Regions from separate parts of the Homo sapiens genome. Here region 2 is linked to region 1. The links are contacts of gene promoters, found by promoter capture Hi-C in human tissues and cell types (Jung and others, 2019). All regions are on one chromosome and are shown on one strand. Each heading gives the region's core, a stretch centred on a gene start or on the middle of the fragment in contact. The rest is flanking DNA. Distances are from core to core; before and after follow the strand shown. Region 1 holds the start of PPP1R13B (protein phosphatase 1 regulatory subunit 13B). Region 2 overlaps KLC1 (kinesin light chain 1).

What was found. Contacts are between HindIII fragments. The study calls those that stand out against the background at their distance.
Region 2: a fragment that was not itself captured here is called in contact with the fragment with the promoter of PPP1R13B in region 1 in 1 of the 25 tissues and cell types used here (heart right ventricle).

Annotation. Positions count from the first base shown.
Region 1 is chr14:103,844,458-103,850,523 of GRCh38, reverse strand. It overlaps PPP1R13B (protein phosphatase 1 regulatory subunit 13B), which reads left to right and starts at 2,949. Exons shown (of 17, transcript NM_015316.3): 1 at 2,949-3,225. The coding sequence starts at 3,217. PPP1R13B-DT (PPP1R13B divergent transcript) reads right to left here and starts at 2,803. Exons shown (of 3, transcript NR_038436.1): 1 at 2,781-2,803. RefSeq lists silencers at 2,390-2,459, 2,480-2,609, 2,630-3,069, 3,240-3,439. The HindIII fragment of the contact is 22,900 bases long and covers 1-6,066 here.
Region 2 is chr14:103,639,051-103,645,504 of GRCh38, reverse strand. The region is part of intron 1 of KLC1 (kinesin light chain 1); the gene reads right to left. Among named protein-coding and RNA genes, the nearest start is that of KLC1, 13 kb to the right of the region's middle. RefSeq lists a silencer at 1,284-1,333 and an enhancer at 5,014-5,514. The HindIII fragment of the contact is 7,416 bases long and covers 1-6,454 here.

The DNA.
Region 1 (6,066 bases), core at 1,700-4,199:
CTCACTCTGTTGCCGGGCTGGAGTGCAGTGGCACAATCTCGGCTCACTGCAATCTCTGCCTGCCGGGTTCAAGTGATTCTCCTGCCTCAGCCTCCCAAGTAGTTGGGACTACAGGCACTCGCCACCACGGCCGGTTAATTTTTGTATTTTTAGTAGAGACAGGGTTTCACCATGTTGGCCAGGATGGTCTTGATCTCTTGACCTCGTGATCCACCCGCCTCGGCCTCCCAAAGTGCTGGGAGTACAGGTGTGAGCCACCGCGCCCGGCCCCTTTAATCATTTTTAACATAAAATATTTCAAACATAGAGTATAAAGTACAATGCACCCCAACATACCCACCATCCAGGTTCAAATGTTATCAAGAATTTGCCACGTATGTTTCAGTTATTCCTAATTGCTTGGCTCTCTTTCCCTCTGGCTGAATTGTTTTTAAACAAATTGCAGACCCCTTACATATGCTAGGATGCATCTCTAAAAAATATGGACATCTTCTTCCGTAACCTTAATGCCTATATCCCATCATTACTGGTGATTCCTTTTTTTTTTTTTTTTTTTTTAGAGATGGGGGGATCTCATTGTGTTGACCAGGCCGGTCTCGAACTCCTGGCCTGGCCTCAAGCAATCCTCCCATCTTGGCCCCCCAAAGTGGTAGAATTACAGGCGTGAGCCACTGCACATTAACAACATTCACGGCGATTCCTGATGGGCTGCTCGTGAACTTTGGTCTGTGTAATGGAGAGACACAGAAGGGCTTTACAGGGTTGGGCCGTGTGTGCTCCAGGAAGATGGAGGGCAGGGGCGTGTTGGGAATGGTGGGGGCGTGGAGGCTAGAGCAGTGGGCTTATAATGAATGAGCTTGGTCCAGGTGGGAGGTGATGGGCCGATGCCTGGAGGTGGCAGGCTGGGTGGAGAGGAGGATGGGGACCAGCGGGAAGGACTTGAGGGGGAGCTGACCAGCCTGCCTCAAATGGACCCTTACCTGGAGGATATAGGATGCTTTGGTGTGAGGCACGGTAGCTGCCACTGTCTGTGCCCACAGGTCCTGCAGGCAAGAGGGGAGCCCTTGTGCCAATGCTTCCCTTCCTGGAAGAGCAGGCTCATTTGGATCACCTTACCCCGGGGGGCACCTCTCTGAAGAGCCTTGGCAAAACCTGTCCTTTGTCAGGCTTCGTGGGCCAGAAGTACCCCTTCGTGACTCAGGGACATCAGCTGTCAAAGCTGGGGAAACCAAGGCCCAGAGAAGGAGTGCAAGTTGCCTAAGGCCCCACAGGAGGTCAGAAGCAGAGCAGCTAGAATTAGAACTTAAGTATGTCTCTGACTTTCAGCCTAGGATCACTCATTATCTAGAGCCTCCTCTTCTCTCCAAACTCTGCTCCCAGAAGAGGGGTGTCATTAGCCATTCATGCCCAGGTGTGGATAGGTTTAAAAATCCCAGGGACGTCTGTACACTAAGCCTCCTTGCTAATCACGGCCCAACTACAGAATGCTATTTATGGAACAGCTACCACGTGCCACAAATTGTGCTGGGCGCTTTCCATCCCTCGCATCCGAAAAAGCCTCTTGACACGAGGCAGGCACTATTATCCCTACACTCTCCCATCACAGAGACAAGCACACTACGATGCAGAGAAGATGCGGCTTGTTTAGGATCCCAGGCGAGGGTGTGGCGGAGGCGGTGCTGAACCAAGTCTGTCTAACTGGAAAGTCCACACTCGCAAACACGAGCCCCCGTGGCCTCTGAGGGACAGGGGTGGCTCCCCAGGAATGGGCTGGTGGGAGCTCCCTGGCCTCCTCCCTTGCTCTGCCCCCACTCTGCAGCAGCCAGAAGCCTCTCCGAGAACCAGACAGGCTCCAGACTGACCCTGACCTCGCGGCGGCCTTCTCCACTGGGCCGGCGCTTCCCAGGGCGGCTTACGCCTTCTGTGTCTGGGGCCATCCGCAGACCTTGCCTTCTGATGCCCGTGGGAGTTCGGTGCTGCCGCGGGGAGCACCTCAGTCCCCCTGTCTGCTCTCCGCCGCGGTCCGGGCGAATGGCACCATGTGGGGGGCCCCGAGCGGGTGCCTACCCCCCTGGCAGCCTTTACTGAGGGTCTGCTCAGGGCCCTGCCCAGGGCTCTGTCACTCCGGCGCTCAGGCCCGAGGGGGCGGCGCCTCTGGAGACGGGACTGCAGGGAGAGACCCAGGCCCTGGAGACGAGGACCGGACCCTCCCCGGGGACGCTGGAGCTGGACCTCGAGGGATGCTGGCGCAGGTGGGCACAGGTGGCACAGGTGGGCGCGGGGTTCTAGGCGGGAGATCGCTCGGGCGAAGGCCAAGGCTCGGGAGCTGGTGCGGGGGGCGCGGCCCCGAGAGCCGCGGAAGACGCCGGTGGGGGAGAAGCAGGTGCCAGCCAAGGGCGTCGGGCCGGGGCTGGTTCCGAGCGCGCGGCCTCGGGTCACATGCTCGCTCCGGGGGCCCCCCGCGCCCCTCCCACTGGCCTCTGGGCCGCAGCCCCACGGCGCGCCGGCAGCCGGGGGTCAGGCCGCGGTCAGAGTGCGGGCGCGCGCCGTCGCCGCAGGGACGCTCCCGGCCCACAGTCGGCCCCCGGGAGCCCGGGTTCGAGTCCCGGCCCTGCCGTGATCCGCTGCGGGACCCGGGCCGGCCCTTCCCTGTCGGGCCTCAGTCCTCCCACCGTCCGCGGTCTTCCCTAGTCGGGGCTCACGCAAGGGCGGGGGAGGCCACCGGTGCCCACTGCGCGTCCGCCCCTCCCCCGCCGCCGGGAGCGCGGACGCGCACGCACCTGGCCGCCGCTGAGAGCGAGGGTAGCGGGCGGAGCCGGGAAGCCCCGCCCCTCTCCCCGCCCCCGCTCCCACCGGGCCAATCAGAGGGGGCTACGGGACCCGTGCGGGGCGTCGCGCTGGGGGCGGGGCCTGCGGGGGCTGAAGAGCGAGCCGGGCGGGCGGGCCGCAGGCTGTCGGGCTGGGGCTGAGGCTGAGGCTGAGGTTGAGGCGGCGGCGGCGGCGGCCGGGTGCCCGGGACAGCGACGCAGCGCGCCGGCGGCCGCGACAGGGCCAGCGAGAGCCCCGCAGCCCGCCGCAGCTGCCGCCTCGCCGCGGCCGGGCCGGAGAGCACGGCGGCGGGAGCGCGGCCTTAGGAGGCGGCCGGAGCGGTGGGCACAGCTCGGCGCGGAGCGTCCTGTCAGGCGGCGGCCGAGGGCGTCGCGGACTCTCCCCGCGATGATGCCGGTGGGTGAGGGCGGGCGGGAGGTGGCGGCGGCTTCCTCCGCGGGCCGCTGGCCAAACCTCCTTCCTCCCGCGGCTCCCAGCCCCCGCGGGCCGGTGCGAGGCCGGGCGGGCGGGGAAGGAAGTGGCTGGGCGGGCGCGCCCGGCCGCGGCGCCCCCCAGGCGGGCAGGTGGGGGCGGCGCCGGGCTGTCAGCGCGGGGCCGGGGCCGCCTGCGGGCCCTTCCTGCTCGGCCTCCGCGGCCGCGGGGAGAAGCAGATGCATTTGGGGCCGGTCATCTCCTCGGTCCTCTCAGGTGCGCGGTCGGACGCTGGGGCACAGGTCTGGTGGGTGGCGCAGCTGTGACCCGCCTGAAACGAACGTTCTGGGGTCGCCCTGGGAGTCGGCGGGGTGGGCACCCGCGCCCGGAGTTCCCACACTCTGCAGGCGCATTCCCGTAGCCTTCGCGGTTGTACTGAGGAAAGGTGCCGAGTGCACGGATTTGGAGAGCCATCTTAGGAATTCCCTTTTCCCGTATCTGCAATGTTGGTTCGTTTTGCTTTAACTGGTTTGTTCTCCGTGTTCTGAAGGTTGAACGAGGTTCGTTTGTAGTGGTGGTGTCTTTGTCCTGCCCTTAAGGATGCTTTCGCCTAGAAAGACATTGGCCATTAGATTTGCCATCGTCCTACCGACCCTTCCCTTTACCTATAATCTGAATAGGAGGGGATGCTGAATTCTGATTTTTAAAAATTGGCTTTTTGGGAGGTAAGCATCATGACTTATGAAAAAATGTGGGACTGGTTGTACCCAGTTGGAGAGGTATTGGTTTTCTGAGCGCCTATATCGTAAGTAAAATTCTCAAACACGTTTATAGTAAAGTAACACAGTCATTTTTTTAACCTACAATACTACGTTGAAAATCACATTTCACAGGAAAGTGCAGTTTCCCTGCATTCTCTACTTGAATATTGCCATTCTGCTATGCTGCACCCAAGGACATTTAGATTAGATCCCCCTTCTTCCTCTTTGATTTCCTTTCTCTTGATAATCTCTTCTCCCCGTTTTTAACGGATTCCAGCATGTTTTGTAGCCGGCTTTCAGCGTTTTCCAAGTCTTAAGGTTTGATCTACTTGATCCTTAGGTCTTTCTTTAGCATCAGACTTGTTGGGTTTCTAAACATTTGGTTTTAAATGAATAATTGTCTTGTAATGGAAAGAGAATTGGATGAGCATCAGAAGATCTGGGGTGAAACGCTGGTTCTTCCACTTTTTAGCTATGTGACCTTGAAGAAGTCAAGGTCTTTGAGCCTGGAATTACCTCTAAAGTAGGGATAAAAATGTACCAATATCTGAGCGCTGTCCTGAGGATCAAATAGGATGATGTATCCAAAAGTGATGGTTGAACAGAATGTCATACAAATATTTATTATTCTTAATATGGCTTTGAATTTTCAATTTCTAACTTTATAAGATAAGGCATTTGGAAACTTCCCTCCCTAATTCTCACTAGCTAGATTTTGATGAAAGGCATTATGGTGTTTCAGAATTTTGAAAGTAGTTTTAGTTAAATCCTGTAATAGTTGATTGATGCATTCATACTGTGGTGGCATTGAAGGATATCTAGAAAAATTTTGGCTGGCTTCGTCGTTGTATAATGTTTAATTATAAATATCCTGCTAAGAAACTTGGCTTACATTTTCCATATGATTCATTCAGACATCTTACCTCTATTCCACGGGAGTAGAGTTTTGAGTTCCTACCTTCACAGGTTTCCTTTTTAAGAGGTTTGTTTAGCTGGGAATTGGGGCATTTCTTCGGATTTCTCAAAACAATAAAATACTGTTTTTTAAAAAAACAGGTCTATTACCTGTTTAAAACACCGCTTTTGTTTAAAAATGCCTTTTAGAAACAGATGGTATTTCTCTTAGACTCTCATGTATGGCTTTTACTTTTGTATTTCCTTTTTGATCCCTAAAAATACTACTTGTAGGACTGAGTCCTTCCTCTATTAACACAGTTGGAGTTGGTTGTAAATTTAGTAGGAGTTTTCAGAAATGCCATTCTTACTTGGTAATATTTTAAACTATCCAAAAATGTAAATAAGATTTTTCTCGATTTATTGTATATTTGGTATTCATCATGATGATGATGAATCAAAGGAACGTTGGGTCATATTTTGCAGTTTGTGTAGAGCAGTACTGTCCAATAAAAATGTAAAGCAAGCCACAAATGCAATTTTAAATTTTGTGGTAACTACATGAAACAAGTTGAAAAAGTACTAATTTTAGTAGTATCCTTTTATTAACTTAGCATATCCAAAATATTATTTTAACACGTATTCAATATGAAAAAACCACTAATGAGATATTATACATTTTTTCTGGTACTAAGTGTCTGAAATCTGGTGTGAATCCGGTGACAGTTTGCATTTTACAGCACACACCTCAGCTCAGACTAGCACATTTCCAGTGCTCAGTAGCTACATGTGCTTAGTGACTACCATATTGGACAACATAGGCTTAGAGTATATTTTATTTTATTTGAAAATTGGCAATTAGTATATAATGTCGTGGTAACTTTTTTCTTTTTTTCTTTTTTTGTGACAGAGTCTCACTCTGTTGCCCAGGCTGGAGTGCAACATGATCTTGACTCACCGCAACCTCCACCTCCCAGGTTCGAGAGATTCTCCTGCCCCAGCCTCCTGAGTAGCTGGGATTACAGGCACCCTCCATCCTGCCTGGCTAATTTTTGTATTTTTGTAGAAACAGGGTTTCACTATGTTGGGCAGGCTGACCTTGAACTCATGACCTCAGGTGATCTGCCCACCTTGGCCTCCTAAAGTGCTGGGATTACAGGCATGAGCCACT
Region 2 (6,454 bases), core at 1,767-4,266, 210 kb after region 1:
AACACACACACAACTGCATTAGGTGGATGCTTTAAACTAAGAAGTGCGACTGCGATGTCCACTACAAGCATGGCAGGGAGCTGCAGAAGAACTGAGCTAGGCAGCACCAGGGGGAACCTGGGAGATGACCAACTCTCAGCCACCACTTGGTTTGTAGACCTGGTAGGGCAGCTAGGTCTTCGCCTCCAAAAAAAAGACAGGCAAATTTTCCCGAGAAATCTGGCCAGCCCCAGGCCAGGCGCAGTGGCTCCCGCCTGTAGTCCCAGCACTTTGGGAGGCCGAGGCGGGCGGATCACCTGAGGTCGGGAGTTCGAGACCAGCCTAGCAAACATGGAGAAACCCCGACTCTACTACAAATACAAAATTAGCCAGGTGTGGTGGCACATGCCTGTAACCCCAGTTACTTGAGAGGCTGAGGCAGGAGAATCACTTGAACCCAGGAGGCGGAGGTTGCAGTGAGCCAAGATCACCCCATTGCACTCCAGCCTGGGCAACAAGAAAGAAACTCAAAGAAAAAGAAAGAAAGAGAGAGAGAAAGAAAAGAAAAGGAAAAGAACAGAATAGAACAGAAAAGAACAGAACTAAAGAAAGAAATCTGGCCAGCCCCAAAAGAGTAACATCCATCCATTCCTCAAATGTTTACTGAGCCTCTACTTTATTCAAGGCACTGTTCTAAAGGTAGAACTTGACCCCCCAAAAAAATTGTCCTAAGAAAATTAAAATATTTTGGTGACAAGAGAATATTCTTTTTCTTCTCTTCTCTTTTCTTTTTAAGTAGAGACAGGGTCTCACTATGTTGCCCAGAATGGTCTCAAAGTCCTGGGCTCAAGTGATCCTCCTACCTCGGCCTCCCAAAGTACTGGGATTATAGGCGTGAGCTACCACACCCAGTCCCAGAGAATATTCTCTATACTTCCAGAGAGGGAGGAAAAAAAACAGGTCATGCAGGCCGGGCGCGGTGGCTCACGCCTTAGTCCAAGCACTTCGGGAGGCTGAAGCGGGTGGATCAGGAGGTCAGGAGTTCAAGACCAGTCTGGCCAATATGATGAAAGCCCATCTCTACTAAAAACACAAAAAAATTAGCCGGGTGTGGTGGCGGGAGCCTGTAATCCCAGCTACTCGGGAAGCTGAGGCAGAGAATTGCTTGAACTCGGGAGGCGGAGGTTGCAGTGAGCCGAGATCACGCCACTGCACTCCAGCCTGGGCGACAAAGCGAGATTCCATCTCAAAAAAAAAAAGTCACGTAGAAAGAATCGAGAATAACTTTAGGCTTTTTTTTTTTTTTTTTTTGAGACAGAGTCTCGCTCTGTTGCCCAGGCTGATGTGCAGTGGTGCAATCACGGCTCACTGCAAGCTCCGCCTCCCAGGTTCAGGCCATTCTCCTGCCTCATCCTCCCTGGTAGCTGAGACCACAGGCGCCCGCAACCACACCCAGCTAATTTTTTGTATTTTTAGTAGAGATGGGGTTTCACCATGTTACCCAGGATGGTCTCGATCTCCTGACCTCGTGATCTGCCTGCCTCGGCCTCTCAAAGTGCTGGGATTACAGGCGTGAGCCACCGTGCCCAGCCAACTTTAGGTTTCTTAACAGCCACATTGGAAGCAAAAGGAAATTAAACAAATGCCTTCGGGCCAGGCAACCTCCACCTTCTGCGCTCAAGTGATTCTCCTGACTCAGCCTCCCGAGTAGCTGGGATTACAGGCATGCACCACCACGCCAGGCTAATTTTTGTATTTTTAGTAGAGACGGAGTTTCACCATATTGGCCAGGCTGGTCTGGAACTCTTGACCTCAAGTGATCTGCCTGCCTTGGCCTTCCAAAGTGTTGGGATTACAGGCGTGAGCCACCATGCCCGGTCAACCAATGTATTTCTTAAATGTATCTGATTGATGTCTCATGCCTCTCTAAAATGTATAAAACCAAGCTGTGCCCCGACCACCTTGGGCACATGTTCTCAGGACTTCCTGAGGGCTGTGTCACGGGCCATGGTCACTCATATTTGGCTCAGAATAAATCTTTTCAAATATTTTACAGGGTTTGAATCTTTTCATAACAATTCTATCAAGGGCACGTGCCAACATGATTTACACCTAATACATCAGCCTCGACCACCTGGCTCAGGTAGCATTTGCAGGTTTAGCCACTGTAAGATTATCACCACCACCTCCACACACAGTCATCCCATTCCATACTCTTAGGAAGCAAGTCACTAAGTGCAGCCCACACTCCAAGGAGATGGGGAAAGTTATAGAGGACCCTCTGGAAGATGGAAGAATCTACCATTATTTGGAATTCTTCTCTAAGGGAGATCAGTCTATTCTTTGTCTCTTTCCTCATTTATTAATGTAATTATTTATATCAATATGGACTTACAGATATTTGTTTTATACTTTAGGTGATAAGTAAAATACTAATTGTTAAAAATACATTCTTGGCTGGGCATGGAGGCTCATGCCTGTAATCCCAACACTTTGGGAGGCCATGGTGGGTGGATTACCTGAGGTCAGGAGTTGGAGACCAACCTGACCAAAATGGTGAAACCCCGTCTCTACTAAAAATACAAAAAAATTAGCCGGGCGTGGTGGTGTGCGCCTGTTGTCCCAGCAACTCAGGAGGCTGAGACAGGAGAATTGCCTTGAACCTGGGAGGTGGAGGTTGCAGTGAGCCGAGATCACGCCACTGCACTCCAGCCTGGGCAACAGAGTGAGACTCCGTCTCAAAAAAAAAAAAAAAACCAAAAAACCAAAAAACTACATTATTTATTTTATTGTTCAAGTTGTTCCAGCTTTTGTCAATGGGAGCTCTTTCAGTTGGTTCCTGTGTCCCTTCTTCATGTTCCCATCCCTTTGTTTTTTAGCATATCCTTACATTCAAACACTAGAAGAAGCTTCAGGCTCATCTTATATTTTCCCTGCCCCAGCCCTAGAATCACCCATTACTCCAAAGAGTTCTGATTTGTTTTGGTACAATGGAATCAGAATCCAAAACTGGGAGCCAGTAGTCTTTCTCCTAAAAACTCATAACCCTGACTTAACCATGGGAAAAATATCAAGACAAACCCAAATTTAAGGACATTGTACAAAATACCTTGCCCATATGTCTCAAAACTATCAAGGTTATTGCAATGGAATCAATGTGTGCCCCCCACCCCAATTCACATGTTAAAATTCTAATGCCTAGAGTAATGCTTTTAGGAGGTGGGGCCTTTGGGAGGTGATTAGGCCATGAGGGGACCCCTCACGGTGGGATTAGTGCCTTTAAAAAAGGGAACCCAGGGGCTGAGCAGTGGCTCATGCCTGTAATCCCAGCACTCTGGGAGGCCGAGGTGGGTGAATCACCTGAAATCAGGAGTTCGAGACCAGCCTAGTCAATATGGTGAAACCCCGTCTCTACTAAAAATACAAAATTAGCCGGGCATGGTGGTGCATGCCTGTAATCCCAGCTACTCAGGAGGCTGAGGCAGGAGAATAGCTTGAACCCAGCAGGCAGAGGTTGCAGTGAGCTGAGATCATGCCACTGCACTCCAGCCTGGGCGATGGAGTGAGACTCTGTCTCAAAAAAATAAAAAATAAAGGGAACCTAGGCAGAGTATAGTGGCTGATACCTATAATCCCAACACTTTGGGATGCCAAGGCAGGCAGATAGCTTGAGCTCAGGTGTTCAAGACCAGTCTGGGCAACATGGTAAAACCCCATCTCTACAAAAAATACAAAAATTATCTGGGTGTTGTAGTGTGCACCTGTAGTCCCAGCTACTTGGGAGGATGAATTGAGCCTGGGAGGCTGAGGTGGAGGTGGGAGGATGAAGTGCACCCAGGAGGCGGAGGCTGCAGTGAGCCAAGATTGTGCCACTGCACTCCAGCTTGGGCAACAGAGACAGACTCTGTCTCAAAAAAATAATTATTATTAAATTTTTTTTAAAAAGGGAACTCTCTCACACTCTTTTCACCATGTGAGAATACATCTAGAAGTCGGTAGCATGCAACCAGAAAGAGGGTCTGCACCAGAATCTGACCATGCTGGCACCCTGATCCCAGACTTCCAGCCTCCAGGACTGTGGCTTGTGTTGTTCGTGAGTCACTAGCCTGTGGTACTTTGTTACAGCCTCGCAAGCTAAGACAGTCCTCTAATGCAAGGAAAGTCTAAGAAAACAGCCACAGAGCAGGAGGCATGATGACTAAATGTGATATGGTATCTTGGATGGGATCCTGAGGTACAACAAGGACAAGGGAAAAACCAGTGATACCAAATAAAGTGGAGTTCAGTTAATAATAATGTACCAGGCTGGGCACAGTGACTCACACCTGTGATCCCAACACTGGGAGGCCGAGGCAGGTGGATCACTTAAGGGCAGGAGTTCGAGACCAGCATGGCCAACATGGCAAAACCCCATCTCTACTAAAAGTACAAAAATTAGCCAGGCATAGTAGCGCATGCCTGTAATTCCAGCTACTAGGGAGGCTGAGGCAGGAGAATTGCTGGAACCCAGAAGGCAGAGGTTGCAGTGAGCCATGGAGCCACTGCACTCCAGCCTGGGTGACCTAGCAAAACTTTGTCTCAAAAGAAAAAAAAAATAATAGTAATAATAATAGTAAGGTACCAATGTTGGTTCCTTGGTTGTCACAAATGTATCACAGTAATGTAGGATATTAACATTAGGGGAAATTGGATGCAAAGTATGTGGGAACTCTCTGTACTATCTTTGCAACTTTTCTGTAAATCTGTAACTATTCTAAAATTAAAAGTTTATTTTCAAATCTACACATAAATACAAAATACATATATAACTTGATAAAAACAAAACCAAAAAAGTATACATACAATATGTATATTAAGAATTCACAGGGCCGGGCGCGGTGGCTCACGCCTGTAATCCCAGCACTTTGGGAGGCCGAGGCGGGCAGATCACAAGGTCAGGAGATCGAGACCATCCTGGTTAACACGGTGAAACCCCATCTCTACCAAAAATACAAAAAATTAGCCAGGCGTGGTGGCGGGCGCCTGTGGTCCCAGCTACTCAGGAGGCTGAGGCAGGAGAATGGCGTGAACCCGGGAGGTGACGCTTGCAGTGAGCAGAGATCGCGCCACTGCACTCCAGCCTGGGCGACAGCGCGAGACTCTGTCTCAAAAAAAAAAGAATTCACAGGCCAGGGGCAGTGGCTCATGCCTGTAATCCCAGAATTTTGGGAGGCCAAGGTGGGTCGATCACCTGAAGTCAGGAGATCGAGACCAGCCTGGTCAACATGGTGAAACCCTGTCTCTATTAAAAATACAAAATTAGCCAGGCATAGTGGTGCACACCTGTAATCCCAGCTACTCGGGAGGGTGAGGCAGTAGAATCGCATGAACCTGGAAAGTGGAGTTTGCAGTGAGCCAAGATCGTGCCACTGCACTCCACAACAGAGCGAAACTCTGTCTCAAAAATAAAGAAAATAAAAGAAAGAATTCACAGCCTGACTCAGTGGCTCACGCCTGTAATCCCAGCACTTTGGGAGGCCAAGGCGGGTGGATCTCTTGAGCTCAGGATTTCAAAGCCAGACAGGGAAACATGGCAAAACCCCATCCTAAAAAAAAATACCAAAATTAGCTGGGTGTGGTGACATGCACCTGTGGTCCCAGCTACTCAGGAGGCTGAGGTGTATCACTGGAGTCCAGGAAATCAAGGCTGCAGTGAAACATGATTGCACCATTGTGCTCTAGCCTGGGTGACAGAGTTGAGACCCTGTCTCAAAAATAATAAAATAAAAATAAAGAATTCACATCTGGGCCGGGTGTGGTGGCTCATACCAGTAATCCCAGCACTTTGGGAGGCCAAGACAGGAGCACTGCTTGAGCCCAGGAGTTCAAGACCAGCCTGGGGAATACAGTGAGACCCTGTCTCTACAAAAATAAAAATTAGTTGGGTGTGGTGGCACACGCCTGTGGTCCCAGCTACTCAGGAGGCTAAGGTGGGAGGATTGTTTGAGCCTGGGAGCTCAAGGCTACAGTAAGCTTTGGCTGTACCACTATACTCCAGCCTAGGTGACACAGCGAAACCCTGTCACAAAAAAATAAATAAGTAAAAGACAAGAAAGAGCCAGGCGTGGTGGCTCACACCTGTAATCCCAACACTTTGGGAGGCTGAGGCAGGCGGATCACTTGAGGTCAGGAGTTCAAGACCAGCCTGGCCAACATGGTGAAACCCCATCTCTACTAAAAATATAAAAATTAGCTAGGCGTGGTGGCACATGCCTGTAGTTCCAGCTACTTGGGAGGCTGAGGCTGCAATGAGCCAAGATCATGCCACTGTACTCCAGCCTGGACAACAGAGCAAGACTCCATCTCAAAAAAAAGGAAAGAAGAATTCGCATCTGTCCAATATGTTAGTTTTGGGAGCATTTTCAAATGTGTAATATTTTATCGAAATAACAACAAAAAAAGTCTGCAGGTAGTTTGATGACCTATCATTATAATT